Regions from separate parts of the Homo sapiens genome. Here all the other regions are linked to region 2. Evidence: promoter capture Hi-C in 16 types of primary human blood cells and fetal thymus (Javierre and others, 2016). All regions are on one chromosome and are shown on one strand. The core of a region is centred on a gene start or on the middle of the fragment in contact, and the rest is flanking DNA. Distances in the headings are between cores, read along the strand shown. Region 1 overlaps SULT1E1 (sulfotransferase family 1E member 1). Region 2 holds the start of YTHDC1 (YTH N6-methyladenosine RNA binding protein C1). Region 3 has its middle 43 kb from the start of SULT1B1.

Region 1 (2,983 bases), core at 376-2,875, 1.5 Mb after region 2:
TTGCTGCAACATAACATAAAAGGCATCATATGTGAGACAGTAAGAGCCAGAGAGGACTCACTTTTGTAATAAAGTCTCTCTGGCAATAATGAACCCACTCCTGGGATAGTGACACCAATCCATTCATGAGTGCAGAGCTCTCATTAATCAATTAATCCATTTATGAGGGCAGATTAATTGAGTTTTCAATACATAAACTTTTGGGGAACACATTCAAATGATAACACATGGTATTAATCAGTCAGTCCATAAACCTTTAAAAAGTATTTCTGTGAATTTATCTGGGCCTGAAGGCATTGTTCTAGAGATATAATTATTAGGAAATATTAAGCAATGAGGTAAAAAAATTCTGTAGCTTTCTTGGAAGCACAGAACCAAAGCTACATTGGCCACCCCTATGTATTTTACCACATGATGCCGTCCAAGGTTTTCATTGTCTCCAGTCCATATGGACTGTAAGCCCAGCTCCAGGAAGATGCCAATAATCTAAAGGTGTTGAAGTTTCTACGTGAAATTGAAGCTAGATCCCAGCCGTATTACTTCTCCAAAGAAGATACAGAAGTTTCTTGGCAAGCTTTGGAAAGATATAGTTGGTCCAAATTTTATTCAGGCTAAACTGGAATGTGTTGTTCCACCAAGGACTGATGTCAGAAATATACGTAGGTTTATTATTGCTTACTTACGTCAATTATAATGTGGGCAACATCACTATGAATCTTACAAAATGCATTCTAAAAAAGTTATTGGACATTATAATGTGAAATTTTAAAAATTATGACTAAATGGGCACATAAAAAATGTAAAACAATTGTTTTCAGGGATTGATTCTGATTCCCCCGGTAAACACTGTCCTCAACAATATCTTAATATTTTCCAAGACTCTCCAATTTTTGTATAATTAATAACTATATTAAACATTAAAAAAAAGCTTTGATTCTTAAAAACTATAACTATTGAATAGGGTGCTCAGAAATCCATGGACTTTTCTCCAAAAAGTAAGAAAATAAATCATCTGGATTTCTCCCCAGATTTGGCCTTTTAGTCTATTGTAGTCTAGATAAGCATTCTACTGAAGACCCTAAGTAAATATGTAATGATCTTGTGTCTCCTCTGTGTTAGTGAAAGGAAGCATTGACTAAACATAGTACAGAAAAAGAATACAATTTTAAAAATAGAAGATGTTTTAAATAAAAAACAATAAAAAATTTTAATTCTTTTTTCTTCTGTTTTTGTTATATTTTACTGCCAAATATCTTATTCTTTAAAACTTATTTTACAATATTTACATTTGTTGGATTGCATATAGGACAGAAGGAACCCTAAAGCATAAATATTTCAAACTAGCTGAAGATAAATCACACTCATTGGAATTATTTTTGGATGTTTGGAAATCTGTTGTGTTATGTTGAAAAATTGGAGTTAGACTAAGGTAAATTTAAAATTAACTCATTTTGTTGAAAGTAAAAGAAAATGGGCCAGGCGCGGTGGCTCACGCCTGTAATCCCAGCACTTTGGGAGGCTGAGGCGGGTGGATCACGAGGTCAGGAGATCGAGACCATCCTGGCTAACACTGTGAAACCCCGTCTCTACTAAAAATACAAAAAATTAGCCGGGCGTGGTGGCGGCCGCCTGTAGTCCCAGCTACTTGGAAGGCTGAGGCAGGAGAATGGCGGGAACCCAGGAGGTGGAGCTTGCAGTGAGCATGAGCAGAGATCACGCCACTGCACTGCAGCCTGGGAGACAGAGTGAGACTCCGTCTCAAAAAAAAAGAAAATAAAAGAAAATAAGGAGGGAAATCATAGCTATAGTTATGCCCCCTATTTATATATTATTTCATTCTTTCTTCCAGAGTCTTCAAAGTTCATGCACCATTTTTATTATATACTAATGTCCTACTAAATGGAAAATCAATCACAAAAATAATTTGAAATGCTTGTTTATTTTTAATACAACTCTAACAAGATGAATAATCTGTGTTACTACATCATTCCCATAGGTTATAGTTGTGCATGATATTTATAAAAAATAGAAAAGAAGAAGAGGAAGCAAAAGAAAAAGAAAACAAAATTTAAGAGATGATAGTAGGAAAAAAAAGTTTCTTATTTCTCATATGCATGTACAGCTCAATAAACATGTTACCTGGGCCAGGCATGGAGGCTCAAGCCTGTAATCCCAGTATTTTGGGAGGCTGGTGTGGGAAGATCACTTGAGCTCAAGGGTTTCAGACCAGCCTGGACACTATAGCAAGCCCCTGTCTATACAAAAAATAGAAATAAAATTAGTTGAGCATGGTGGTGTGTGCCTGTTGTTGCAGCTACTTGGGAAGCTTGAGCCCAGGAATTCAAGACCAGCCTGGACAATATAATAAGACCTCATCTCTACAAAAAAACATTAAAAAAATTAGCCAAACATGGTTGCACATGTCTGTAGTCCTAGCTACTTGGGAGGCTGAGATGGGAGGATCAATTGAGTCAAGGAGGTCAAGGCTGCAATCAGCCATGATTGTGCCACTGTCCTCCAGCCTAGGCAACAGAGTGAGACTCTGTCTCAAAAAAAAAAAAAAAAAGTTAAACAAAAATTTAAAAAGAAAATGTCAACATAATCCATGATTATGTCTTTTCTAGCAATCTAAAATAAGAAAAAGTGGAGAATAATGAAAAGAAATCTTTAATATCAGATATGTTAAGTAAAGAAAGACCTTCTTAGATCTCAGTTCGAAACTTCAGTGTAGATTCCTTCATTTGCTGCTCATAATGTTTATCAAATTTTTCATTCAGGGCTACTGTAAAGTGATTTTTCCAGTCTCCTGTAATTCCTGTAACAAAAAAGAAAGCTCAATAAATATTAAGTCTTCCAAAAAGAATCATTAGGTTTGCTAATTTCATCACTTTCATTAACACCTAATCAAATATTATACTTGTAATTCTCAATTTTAAGAATCAAATGTATACCTTTAATGATATACTTTTTTGGGCTTACAAAG
Region 2 (3,144 bases), core at 432-2,931:
TAAAAGCATTTTCCTTTACTCACTAACACCATACAATCCTATGTTCCCATTACTTCTGGATTTCTCAAAAAAAAAAAAAAAAAAGGCCCAGGGAGATTTTTTAGCATTTAGTTTAAGGATGGAACATTAAACTGCTATAACCTAATCAAAGAACTACTTTAGGATAAGGGCAGTATCTTAAAAGTATTCCCACCCATTCCACTTTCCCAGCTTGTCCCTAACCTAGGGCAGTTCATTGAAGCATGAAGACTCTCCTGATGCAGAAACCAGAAAAATTAAGAAAAAAGGATTACACGCCTAATGTAACTTGACTCTAGAGCCCACTTAACAACCCCCGACAAAAAAACCCCAAATCAATTAGGCACACAGAAGAGATGTGTGAGACACAGAGCAGCGACCGTGTCATATTTTTAACTATAATCTTTCCAAGACTATTATGTTAATCTTAGGGTTGAAAAAGATCTTAAAGCAGCATTTAATCTAGACCACTCTCCAGAGAGACACTGATCTAGGACCTACATTAATATCTCTAGGGCTTGGGAACTTAGTATTACTATCTTTCCATTACAGCAACGTCAGTTCTCTCTACATTTCACTGAAATTTATCCCTCCAACTCTCTGTAACTTGCATTCATTTGTTTCTGACTGTACCCTCTGGGAGCTACACACGGTTTTTCTAACATAATAGCACCCAGGATTTCTTTGCCAGCCTAAGTCACACAGTCATCTTTCCAAACTAAGTATTCCTTTTTCCAAGTACTATGTTTTTCCAAAATAAGTATTCGAGGAACAAAACGGGTAATTCACTTTGCCTATTTAACAGGAACAGCCAGAAGTTATTTGCAGATATTTCTCAAGATTAATAACCTGCCAGTGCCACTTCCTAAACTTGCTCACTTACCACACCACCAGTGTTGATCGCGGCATTAGGGGTTTTCAAATTTTAGCCTAACAGAAATGGTTGTCCTGAAAATACGCGTTACATCCGCATGATCCTACCAGGAAATAAACCTAGGAGCTTGCAACTCAGAAAGGGCCCCTCTCAGCCCAAGACAGCTAAACGGAAAGTCAAGCGTGAAATCCGCATCAAAGAAAAACCCTACTGAGATGAAGTGCTAGGCCATATGGAGACTGAGGACGAAAGGGCAGGCCTGGTCTCCGCCAGAGTCTAAGTGTCTCGGTGGGGGCCACCGGCTCCTCGCGAGGCCAGCTAACCTCCCCAACCCCCACCCCCCACCCCCAACGACGACCACTGCTCCATCACCCCACTCCCGGGCCCCAGCCTCGCCTCGGCCCGTCATCTTTCTCCGCACTAACCTTTCTCCTCCCGACTGTCAGCCGCCATGGCTCCCCTTCGGTTTCCGCCGCTGCCACCGCCGCCGCCGCTTAGACGCGACTCGCGCGGGCGCCGCAGCCGCGGCAGAAGCACGGGCCCGTCCGTCAGTCCGTCTGCCCGGATACGCGCGTCGCACTTGGCCTCTTAACACTCAGCCTTCTCGACTCTTCCCGCTTTTTCCCTTTCTCCCTTCCTTTCACTCCAGCATCCAGCGGCCTAGGCCCAGCCTTCTCGTTAGGGCTCAGACTCGGGCTAGGTATGGGGGAGGGAAGGGAAACAGATGGCGACGGCGGGCGGCGCTAAAATGGAGCCTGCTTCCTGCGCGAAACAATCCCGCTCCCGAAATGCCCTGCGCTGTTTACGCTTCGTTCCTCTCTGGGAACGTCACAGTGCGGAGAGGGGCGGGGAGGCGGGGACGTGCAAAGGAACGTGACGTGACGTCAGCGCGTCGCCCTGCCGCCCTCAGCCCACTGGTACCTGGAAGGAGTCTTATTCAGGGATTAGGTTACCCAGGTTGTTCATGGAGTTCCCGCTGTACGGCCTATAACTGGATGGCGCAATTTTCCCACCTGAAACTCTTAGTGCAGGGCCTAACAGGCCTTCTTAGCTAGAGTCGCTCTAAAGGACTCCTGATTCAGTTCGGGTAATCGGAGTCTTATTTAGGACAAGTCTGGGTGAATCCCTTATGTTTACCAGATGTACTTTCTTAGTTGGAGTTCCACTCTTACCCAAAGGCAGTGCAGCATGCAACCAGCTTGTTTGTAGTCACAAAAGCCTGCTAGTTTTTGTTTGTTTTGAGACGGAGTCTCGCTCTGTCGCTAGGTTGGAGTGCAGCAGCGCGATCTCGGCTCACCGCAACCTCCGCCTCCCAGGTTCAAGCGATTCTCCTGGCTCTGCCTCCTGAGTAGCTGGGACTACAGGCGCCCGCCACCACGCCCAGTTAATTTTTTTATTTTTAGTAGAGACGGGATTTCACCATGTTGGCCAGGATGAAGTGCTGGGATTACAGGCGTGAGCTACCACGCCCGGCCTAGTTTTGTTTTTAATTGGGGAAAGAATTGTATCATAATAGGTCTTTGTAATTAATAACTAATTTAAACATGTTATCAAGGCCCTGGGGCACAAAATTGATTTAAGCAGACCATCGAGGAATCGAAACTACAGAATAAATGACCAGTAGATACATAACTACATAGTGTGGTAAAATCTGCAAGAGAAACTTGCTTAAGATTCATTGTCCAACGGAAACAATCTAATTTTGCTTCCTTGAACTATAACTGAGTTATAAGGGAAAGAAAAATCTGAAAAAGGTAACTAAGTAACTTCGTGATATGAAGACAAACTGGCAAACTAACTGCATATTCAGGGAAAGACAAGTAGTCTAGAAGTCTAGAATGTGGTACCTCTTTTTTTTTGAGACGTGGTCTCACTGTGACACAGGCTGGAGTGCAGTGGTGTGATCATGGCTCACTGCAACCTTGGGCTCAAGTGATCCTCCCACCTTAACCTCCCAGGTAGCTGGAACTACAGGCATGCTCCACCACATCCGACACATTTTTTGCATTTTTTGTGGAGATATACCATCTCCGCAAGATGGCTAACACCTAGCCATCTTGCCCAGGCTAGTGTCTAAATCCTGGGCTCCAGCAATCCTCCCACCTCGGCCTCCCAAAGTGCGGGATTACAGGTGTGAAGCCACCAGGAGTGGCCCCATTTCTAGGACCTTAATTGAACACTAATTTGAATATACGAACACGCACACGCCACAAACACACACACACACACACATTAAATAATATCTGATGATC
Region 3 (3,119 bases), core at 63-2,562, 1.4 Mb after region 2:
ATACCAGGAACAAAAATTATAAAATGGCCTTTAAAGAAAATATCATTTAAAATGATCAAGATAGGTCAAATGTGGAGAACTGAATCTAACAAAAGTATACGACTTCTACATTGAAATAACAAATTATTAGAGGTAAGCAAATAATTCCCAAATAAAAGCATAGTTTTTTGTAATCATGTAATTACTTGACTAATTGATCAATAGATTAAATGCAATCCTAATACAGATCATAGCAGGTTTTTTTTTAAGGGAAATTGTCAAGATTCTTCTAAAATGTATATGGAAAAACAAAAGGCCAATACTTGACCAGGCATTCTTGAGGAAAAATGAAATTGAGTTCTACTATCAGTCATTCAGTTACATTGTTAAGCTATATTAATTAAAGCAATATGGTGTTCATGTAAACATTTATAAAAGACCAGTGGAATAAAATAGTCCAGATACAGACCCACATTTATAAGGACAACTGATGTAATACAAATGTGACTGCAGTAAAGTGAGGAATGAATGGCCTTTTTAGTAAATTGTGCTAAGTCAACTGGATATCTCTAGGTGGGGAAAACCACTGGAGTCCTACCATATAAATATTCATTCCAGATATATTTTAGATTTACATGTGAAAGACAAACAATAAATCCTGTAGAAAAAAAGAGCATCTTTATTACCTCGTTGCAAACAAATATTTCTTATGTGGGATACAAAATGCTTACTCTGCAGAAAAAATTATAAATTGAACAATATTAAGACTAATAATACCAAAAGACACTGTTAAGTGACTAAAAACTCAAGTCATAGAATAAGCAGATGAAATAGCAGATGTAATATCAAAAAAGCCAACAGTTTTGTGTTTCTTAAGAGTAAGAAAATTGACGACCACATGGCAAGACATATTAAAAAAGAGAGAGAGAATACTCATCAATATTGAGGATGAAATAGGGATATCACTAATATTTCTATAGACAATATGAAAATAAGAAAGATTTTGAAAAGAGCAAAGATACAAAAAATCTTAAGGTGTATATATATACACACCTACATAAAAATATGTACATATGTGTAAGCAAACATATGCACATGCACACTCATAGATATTCATATTCTTCAAATCAGTGAAAAAATAGGGCAACACATAAAAAATAGACAAAAGAGTTGAATGGGTACTTCACAAAAGAGGTATAATGAATAATCAATATGATGAATTAATGTGAAAACTTACTCAAAATTTATCAGCAGTGAAATATCAATTATAACCAGAACATAATAAACATTTACCAAGATGGCTAAAATGAAAATTACATAAAATAATAGGTGATGAGTATAAAATCTGGGACTGGAATGCTTTTGTACAGCTGGTGTAATTGTAAATCAATATAACCAGGTTGGAAAAGTATATGGTGGTATATCTTAAACGTATGCACATCACGTTATTTAGTAAATCAATACCTAGGCTACACTCAAGGAAAATGCACATAAAATATATATACCAAAAATGTAAATAACATGTTCACTGTAGTACTATTTGTAGTAAACCAAACTGAAAATTTTGAAATGCTTATCAAAAGCAAATAAACATTGGTATAGTCTCATAATGGAATGCTATATAATAATAAAAATAAAAACTACAACTACATGCAACAACATGGATAAATCAGTAAAATACAATGTTGAGTGAAAAAAGTCACAAAGTCCACAGAGTCCATCTATACCATTCCATTAATATAACTTTCAAAATAAAAGGCAAAAGTAATCCATGGTGTTAGAAATCAGACTTGTGGTTTCCATTGGGAGTAACATTGACTGGAAGAGTGAGGCTCCAGTATGCTGGTAATGTTCTAATTCTTAAACATTAACCAAATTAACCAGAGACATGAAATCTGGTTACACAGGTGTGTTTATTTGGAAGGTTTCTCTGTATATCTATGATTTTTGGAGTTTTCTATCTGTATGCTATACTTAAAAAAATGGTAAAACTTCAATGACCATGAAAAATTCAGATATTGAGATGAAATTTTGGTACCCCTAAAATGTGCCTTGACCACTAGGCTGCTTTGAATAGACTTTATATCTATTTATTTTTATTGTATGTTGCTATCCCTTTCTGGTTTGCTTCCCTTGCATTTTGGCTTTGTTGCAGAGGCCCAGTGTGGTTCAAGCTCAAGACCCCAAAATACGACAGTAAGAACAACTCAGGCAAAACAATGAGAGAGTATAGTTTTATCATGTACTAATCTATTCAGAAACTTAGCTTTCAAAAAATGGAAGAAATAATTACCCAGGGAATAAGAAAAAAATGTTCTCAATGAAACCCAATTTACACTCATTGTTTAAGCGAATGAATAGTTTACACACTAAGCAAACTGTACTAGGAAAGTTACCCATTTATTTTAAAACACACTGCATATTTGGCTAAAGGCCAGTTTTAAGTTATGTGATTCACTTAACTTCCTCTTTCCCTTCAAATTATATTTAGCCATTGGCTTTAAGTTTTAAGTTTTCATTATTTTATTTTTCTGCATTTCTAAATATGAATTTCATTCGTACAAAAGGAGCTACTTTGTAGCTGTTAAATCTGTCTATCTATCTATTACTTGCAAAATGAGTAGTTCATCTTCGTCACTTGGAAATTGCAATATATAATATGGCTATTGAGTCACCTCTGGTGTTTTATAGAATGTGTAAATTAGAGTCCCACTCCAGGCTTTCTTAATCAGAATCTCTAGAGAGAGCTACAAGAATCTTTCTTTTACAAAAACTTCTACTATGCACAACAATGTTGATACTCTTGCCAATAGTTCTAGAGGAAGGGAGGGAGGGGATATAGAGGATGCAAGTTGTGAGAAAATAGTTTGTTCCCTCTCCTTTTTTCCCATATTCGAAGTTACAGGAGAAGCTTTTTCATAAGATTTGTGACATCTTGTTCTCTTTCTCTCAATAGAAGAGAACAGGACAGGGTACATTTAGTGCCCTTCTTATGAATAGGCTGCATTATCTTATTAATCATTTGTTGGGACTCTATGCATTTTACCAGAGACATTCCTTTCTAATGAGTAAGTTTTAAAATCAACACTTGAAACTCAAATTAACCTAGATGAGTTTGAACTATGGTATTGCCATCATTA

What was found. Contacts are between HindIII fragments. The CHiCAGO score rates a contact against its expected background, and 5 or more counts as called.
Region 1: a contact is called between a fragment that was not itself captured here and the fragment with the promoter of YTHDC1 in region 2, in 1 of 17 cell types (non-activated CD4 T cells). The highest score is 6.1, in non-activated CD4 T cells.
Region 3: a fragment that was not itself captured here is called in contact with the fragment with the promoter of YTHDC1 in region 2 in 1 of 17 cell types (naive CD8 T cells); the score reaches 5.4 in naive CD8 T cells.

The regions. Positions count from the first base shown.
Region 1 is chr4:69,839,292-69,842,274 of GRCh38, forward strand. It overlaps SULT1E1 (sulfotransferase family 1E member 1), which reads right to left. Exons shown (of 8, transcript NM_005420.3): 8 at 1,921-2,815. The coding sequence ends at 2,703. Among named protein-coding and RNA genes, the nearest start is that of SULT1E1, 19 kb to the right of the region's middle. The HindIII fragment of the contact is 1,398 bases long and covers 927-2,324 here.
Region 2 is chr4:68,348,409-68,351,552 of GRCh38, forward strand. YTHDC1 (YTH N6-methyladenosine RNA binding protein C1) reads right to left here and starts at 1,682. Exons shown (of 17, transcript NM_001031732.4): 1 at 1,318-1,682. The coding sequence starts at 1,345. RefSeq lists an enhancer at 1,051-1,630. The HindIII fragment of the contact is 7,711 bases long and covers 1-3,144 here.
Region 3 is chr4:69,716,145-69,719,263 of GRCh38, forward strand. No RefSeq gene overlaps it. Among named protein-coding and RNA genes, the nearest start is that of SULT1B1, 43 kb to the right of the region's middle. The HindIII fragment of the contact is 3,151 bases long and covers 1-2,888 here.